Linked DNA regions of Homo sapiens: region 2 is linked to region 1. Evidence: promoter capture Hi-C in human tissues and cell types (Jung and others, 2019). All regions are on one chromosome and are shown on one strand. Each heading gives the region's core, a stretch centred on a gene start or on the middle of the fragment in contact. The rest is flanking DNA. Distances are from core to core; before and after follow the strand shown. Region 1 holds the start of CASQ1 (calsequestrin 1). Region 2 overlaps KCNJ10 (potassium inwardly rectifying channel subfamily J member 10).

Evidence for each region. Contacts are between HindIII fragments. The study calls those that stand out against the background at their distance.
Region 2: a contact is called between a fragment that was not itself captured here and the fragment with the promoter of CASQ1 in region 1, in 5 of the 25 tissues and cell types used here (IMR-90 fibroblasts, adrenal gland, aorta and 2 more).

What each region holds. Positions count from the first base shown.
Region 1 is chr1:160,188,964-160,192,070 of GRCh38, reverse strand. CASQ1 (calsequestrin 1) reads right to left here and starts at 1,496. Exons shown (of 11, transcript NM_001231.5): 1 at 1,041-1,496. The coding sequence starts at 1,319. The HindIII fragment of the contact is 26,832 bases long and covers 1-3,107 here.
Region 2 is chr1:160,063,048-160,066,256 of GRCh38, reverse strand. All of the region lies in intron 1 of KCNJ10 (potassium inwardly rectifying channel subfamily J member 10), which reads left to right. Among named protein-coding and RNA genes, the nearest start is that of KCNJ10, 5.5 kb to the left of the region's middle. The HindIII fragment of the contact is 5,791 bases long and covers 1-3,209 here.

The DNA of each region.
Region 1 (3,107 bases), core at 247-2,746:
CTTGCAGCTCTACCCCCACTCAGCACAGACTCAGGTACTGTGATTCTCAGAGGGGTGGGGAAGGGAGGCGGTTGGCAGGTGGATGGCCAGGGATACTGAGCACTCAGGATAAAAATACTCGGCTCATTAATCAGATGGCAGGTTCTAGCACCCAGCAGGGGTGCACAAAATGAGAGCCTGTGGTTCTGGTGTCTCACCCTGAAATGCTCCAAGCTCTGGACAAGCTGAGGCCAGAGAAGGGGCCACAGGAGCTTGGACAAGAAAACTCACATCCCATTTCCTAAAGGTGTGTGTGTATGAACACATTCCCAAACATAGGTTTTTTTTCTTTTCTTATGATAACTTCTTTCTCCTTTGGGCCTGAAGTCATTTTGGAGGTGAGGAGACTTTTCCCACAAAAAGAAGATTGGGGAAGACATTCTGACACCTCCTGCAACCATAAGAATTTTCCAGTGAGGGCATCCAGCTTATCCAATGGAGACAAATGGGGAATTAGGGAGGGGGAAGGAAGAGAGAGGGGACTGGGAGTCCAATGGGAGGCATGATCTCTAGGAGATATTTAAACATGGCATGCAAGTATCATAACATTTACATTTACACTCAGTTTGGATCTCTTTGGGGTGCAGCCCCTGAAGTATGTGGAGAGGACGTGTTCTGGCTAAGCAGATGGGTGGGGTAGGGGAGTGCAATATACACTGCTGTTCTCCCCTGGCCCTCCAAGTACCTCCCTTTTTCACCCTCAGTGTCCTAGCCAAACCTAAGTCAAATACTACCAGCCTCCTATAGCAGGGAGGGGAGCTCTTCCTGCAGCACCCCTGCTAAAGGTTTCCTGACGCTGATAGTACTTTTGGGTTCCTGAGACTCTGTTTCTCATTTGACTAAAGCCACATGCCACTTGCATCCTGTTGGTCAGGACAGGGTTCCTACCACACTGCCCCTCACCCCCAGATCCCATCCTCAAAGAGCTACATGGGTGTAGGATAGGGGATTCCGGAGAGGGGCTAGACATGCTCTGCAGGCCTGCAGTGCCCCCAACTCACCTCCAGGATCAGCTCCTCCATCTCAAATTGTCTTTGTGAGGCCTTGTCATCCTCGGGGGGTTCATGGTAGAGGAGTGCCAGCACCTCATACTTCTTGAACACATTCTTGTAGTTCTTTGCATTGACATTGATCACACGGTCCACACCATCGTACTCAGGGAAGTCCAGCCCTTCCTGCCCCTGTACCCCTGACTTGGGTGTCCCTAGCACCAGCAGCAACAGCAGTGCCAGCCGCAGACCCGGCACAGCTCTGGGCCCCATCCTGTCTGTAGCACTCATGGAGGTAGTGGGATCTGGGTTGGCTCTCCTGGTCCAGAAGAGGTTAGCTGGGGTAGGGAGGGGCCCCTGGGTCCCAGATTCTGAGTTAGGGGCTCAAGTGGGAGGGGGGATTGGGGAATGGCCCAGAGCAGTGGACAGAGGGCACTGCTGGGTCCTGGAGAAACTGCCGACAGAGCCAAGGGAAAAAGGGTCAGGTGGAGGAATAGGAGCAGGGGGCGGGGAGGGAACCGGAGCTGCCCCCTGAAATTGGCACCCCTCAGTCCCCACCTGGTCCTGTCTAAATATGTCTCCATGGTTGGCAGGAGAGACGGATAACCTTCTGAGGCCAGGACAGCTCCATGCGGGCCGGAATCCTCCCACCTCCTACACTTCTACCCCAGGCTCCCAGGGGCTCCTTCCCTCCCCCTCCTCCAGTGTCCAGGGCACCTCAGCCCCGGTCCCCACACTGGCCTAAGAGCTCATCGCCATATTAAGAAAGGAAAAGGAGAGATGCCGGAGCTAAAAATAAGACCAGATGAGTCGGAGGTAAATGAAGCTGGGGCTGGGGGAGGGGAGGTATAAGGGTAATTAGGGTGGGCCGAGGGTGGGGCAAGGGTAATTAGAAGTTAAATGCAGTGGAGAGGAGGAGCTAACTGGGTCAGAGGCTAAATTGATAATATAGGACAAAAGGGGGACAAATGTGGTATTGGCTCTATGTCCTAAAGCCTGGGAATCTTCTGTAGGTGAAGTCTGATTCTGATTCTTTGATACTATGTAGGAGAGTGGGGCGATAAAAGTGCAAGCCAGGCTGCAGGAAAGAGACCCCCTCCACTTTCTTTTAAAGAACCAGGACCAAGGATGAGGTCATTCTCTGAATAAAAGATGGAGCCGCGTCCAAGACTGGCAACCTGGCTCAGCTCCAGCCAGTTTCCTTTGCTTCACTCAGCACTCCTAACTTGGGAATGCAGGGAAGGACAGGGCTGGCCCAGATCCTGTCCTGTAGAGATGTGGGTTTGGGGTTTCTCTGCCTATAAAGCCCACAATGAGAAGGGGTCTGTCCTTTGGTTGCCACCTGTGTGTGCACTCCCTACCCTGATCCTATGGGACTCGGTTTTCTGGGGCACAGTGGGAAGGGAGGTTTTCCCAGGCTGCATGCTTCCAAGGAGAGTGAATAGCTACTATTTATTCCCATGTCTTTGACAAGACAAAGAGGATCAGGTATTGACACCAGGGCAAAAAAAAATTAACATTAGGCAAGCATGAAGAGGTGAACCCTGTGCCCTGAACCAAGACTGATGATTAATTCTGTGCACCCGAGATCCAAAGCAGAGATGGGCGGGTAGGGGCTTAAACTTCTGGATCCAGCTTGGGGGGTGAGGACAGAGTAGTGAGTTTAACTCTGGATACGTAGGAAGGAAGGATCCTCTTCATGGCCCTCCAGGGTTCTTACTATGCACAGGTAAACTGAGGCATGAGGGAGACCATAGAGGGTCAGATCAAAGTCACATGCTGCCACTGCACCCTGAGGTATCTCTGATTCTAGAGGGACAGTGGTGTTTTTTTTGTTTTGTTTTGCATCCAGGGAGGGTCATGTAATTATGTTAGCAGAATAACTTTTCCACATGTCTGTGTGGTGGACCTTACACAGCTGAACACGGAAGGCCACAGAAAATCTCAAAAGCATGGCAGGAGTGAGGCCAAGAGGGACAGCTGTCACTGTAGCAGGAGAGGTTGGAGCTAGCCTAAGCACAGCACGTTGGAGCTGAAGAGACCTCAGAAGCCCATATCCTGGTCTCCCTGAAGAGTGGC
Region 2 (3,209 bases), core at 654-3,153, 130 kb after region 1:
CAGCCCCTGCTTTCCACAAGTTTTTGCCAAGCAGATGTCCTGTCTTCAGATTCAATAAATGAGAACTGAGTGGTTGAGCTTTCACCAAATAGTCTCTTTCCCCATTCTCAGCAACTTCTCTTTCAGCCAAAGACTTCTGTCAGAGACTTCTTCTGTCGGTCAAGACAACCCCCACATCTCATTCCTGCTCCCATGGTCCTGCCTATCGCTCTTGTATTCTTCATCCTGCCTCTCCCTCTCCCGGCCCAGGTTTGCCCCCACAACTTCTCTCAGGTTTATATGCCCTTCTCTTCTTGTGTCTCCTGATTGGCTTGTTCATCCCATCAGCCTGGATGCCCACAGCAGCCTCCTTAATGACCTCCCTGACTCCAGCCCCCTCTCTCCTCGACTCCTTCCCTGTTACCCTATAATGAAATTATCACTGGAATTGTCATCATGAAGCATCAGTTTTATCTTGCCCTTTCTCTACCCAGACACATCTGTTGGCATTGGATAAAAATTTCCCAATCACAGGCTTCAAGAGACTTTATGCCTTTCTCCCATCCCCTCCAGCCCCATATCTTGTGGAACTGCACTCTTCAGACCCTGATCCTGGGGAGCATATCCCAGGCAGTCTCTGAGCCATGCTCCTCCCCACACTCTGGACCCTCACAAAGGCCATTCCAAGTCTCACCCCTCCCGCAGATCTCTATTCTCCTGTTTCCCTCTCTGCTCTGCCATCTTGCTTGTTACTTGCATCTGCAACTTGGCCCAGGGTTCTCCATGCATGGCGATGTTGGAGGAGACTTGTCTCCCTCATTAGCCGGGGGTTTCCTCTAGGGTGAGGCCTGTACCTCCGTCAGATTGGCAAAGGCATCTCTTCTCTCTCTGGACCCTCTGGCACCCAGCAAAGGGCCTGCCTCCTAAGACACAGAGTAGCTACTGTCCAGTTTGACTCTAGGTAGGAAACATTTCTGATCGCTTATTCTTGGGGAAGGAGCCTGACTTTGGAGGTTTATGTGAGCATCCTGCAGCAGGGTGTGTATAGGATCCTATTATCTAATTCTATAGGAGATCTCAAGAGAAACCCCTCTCCTACTAACGACCCCATCCTGTAGACATGGCTTCACCCTAAGATTACAAGCCCTAGAACCCCCAATTTATAGTCTTCTAAGCATTGTTGCTCCACCCACCCCCCCAACACAAATGCAGGTATGTAGGCCCCAGAGAGCCTTTCTCCCCTCACCAGGGCAGTCTGACTCCAGCCTGAGGCCGGGCTTGTCAGCAGCATCGTCTGGAATGAAAAAGGGGGATAAAGGTCAGAGTCTAGTCTGAGGCAGCCCCATTGTCCTGAGCATACCTCTGAGCAGGGGCTTGCAAGGTGGCAGACATGTGAGGTCACCTCCCAAGTGGGGTATAGGTCTGACCTCTTAGCACTGCATTCTCCCTGGACCAGCCTCCTCAGCTCCACTTCTGATCCCAGTTCCAACTGGTAGAGCCAGGCACACTCCTTCTCCACGTGTCTAAACCTCCCGGTTGACCCTGTGATAAAAAAGATATAGGCAACTGGTAAGAGGAGAGGGTGAGTGTATTAGAGTCTAGAGCACTGGTTTTTAAACTTTTTGACCTCAGGACCACTTTACATTCTAAAAAGTTACTGAAGACTCCAAAGAGCTTTGGTTTGTGTGGGTTCTATCTATGAACATTTACTGTGTTAGAAATGAACACTGGGACACATGAAATAATTATTAATTTTTGCATGTTAACAAAATGACGTATTTTTAATGAAAAACAGCTGTATTAAAGTAAACAAAAAGTTAATAAGAAGAGTGACATTGTCTTATATTTTCACAAGTCTTTTTAAACATCTGGCTTAATCAAAGACAGTTGCTTTCTCATCTGCTTCTGCATTTAGTGTGTTGCAATATCATAGGTCATGTACCTTCTGGAAAACTCTACTGAACACTGTGAAATAATGAAAGTGAAAAGGGCAAATAATGTATTGTTAGCATTATTATGAAGATAGGTTTGACTTTGTAGAGCCTCCGAAAGGGTCTCAGGAACCCTCCGAAAGGGTCCAGGGACCATACTTTGAGAACTGCTAGTCTAGAGGAACCTTAGAAGACAGTTTCAAAAACCTGGGCCAATTTGAATATCCTCGTTGATTTCCTTCAGCTGCCATGGTCTTTTGAATGTTCTCACCAGGGAGGTAGTATGGGGTAGTGGTTCATCATGTTAAGTTCTGCCTCTGTTCTACTACTCACTAGCTATGTGGCCATGGGCAAATTATTAATATCTCTGTGCTTCAGTTTTCTCATCTATAAAATGGGACTTTAAAAAGCACCCACCTTTAGAGTTGTTGAGAATTAAATGACATAATAGGAAAGGGCTCAGCGTAGAGCTCAATGATGTGAGCTCTCATTAAATTCCGGAGCCTTGCCCCTGAATCCACTGCGCATTGTCCCGAAGGCAGGGAGCTGCAGAGGAGATCCATCCAATGCTACACATAGGAGCTCGGCCCAGAGAGGGAAAGTGACCTGTGCAAGTTCCCAGAGAGAGTTGACAGGGTTGTTGGGCCCCGAACCCAGGAGTTCTAAGGCCTAGCTCCATCTCTGCTCTCCCCGCCAGAATTTTTTTGTGGAGAGTGGAGGAGCAAGGTCCTAAGACGGGGAAAGAAGCAGACTTTACCTTTCTTTTCCCCAGCAATCTCAGGTGAGCCCAGGGCCAGGGCAGTACAGTGGGAAGCCTTGAGGGCAGACAGCAGGGAGAACTTCCGATACTGACAGCAACTGAAAAGAGGAGAAAGAAAGCTAGGAAGACATTTTCAAGCCCAGAGATTGTTCTGTCTTGCCGTGTGGGGAGCAGTTCTGCAAAGTGTCCCCGGCCTTCTCTTCCTGGGGCTCGTAGGAAGTCTGTGATTGGGCAACCCTGCTTCTCATGAGGTGCTCAGTCCCGCTCACTGCCCTCCTCTCAGCTCTCCCACCACCCAAGGCCCAGGAGCCCCTCCCCAGATCATGCCTTCTGGCCCTGCCCTTTGTGCTGAGGCACCACAAGGCACAACATGGTGCCTTGGAAAAGCCAGTTGGTGGTGCTGAGGGCATTAATGAGGATAGGGGTGCCTGCTGGGGTTCCCTGGGCAGGAGAAGGGAAGCTTCTCCTCACAGATTGTAGAACAGGAGGAGGCAGATGGGGAGTTAGACATATACTGGGAAGAGCTAGTCCTGGCTCAT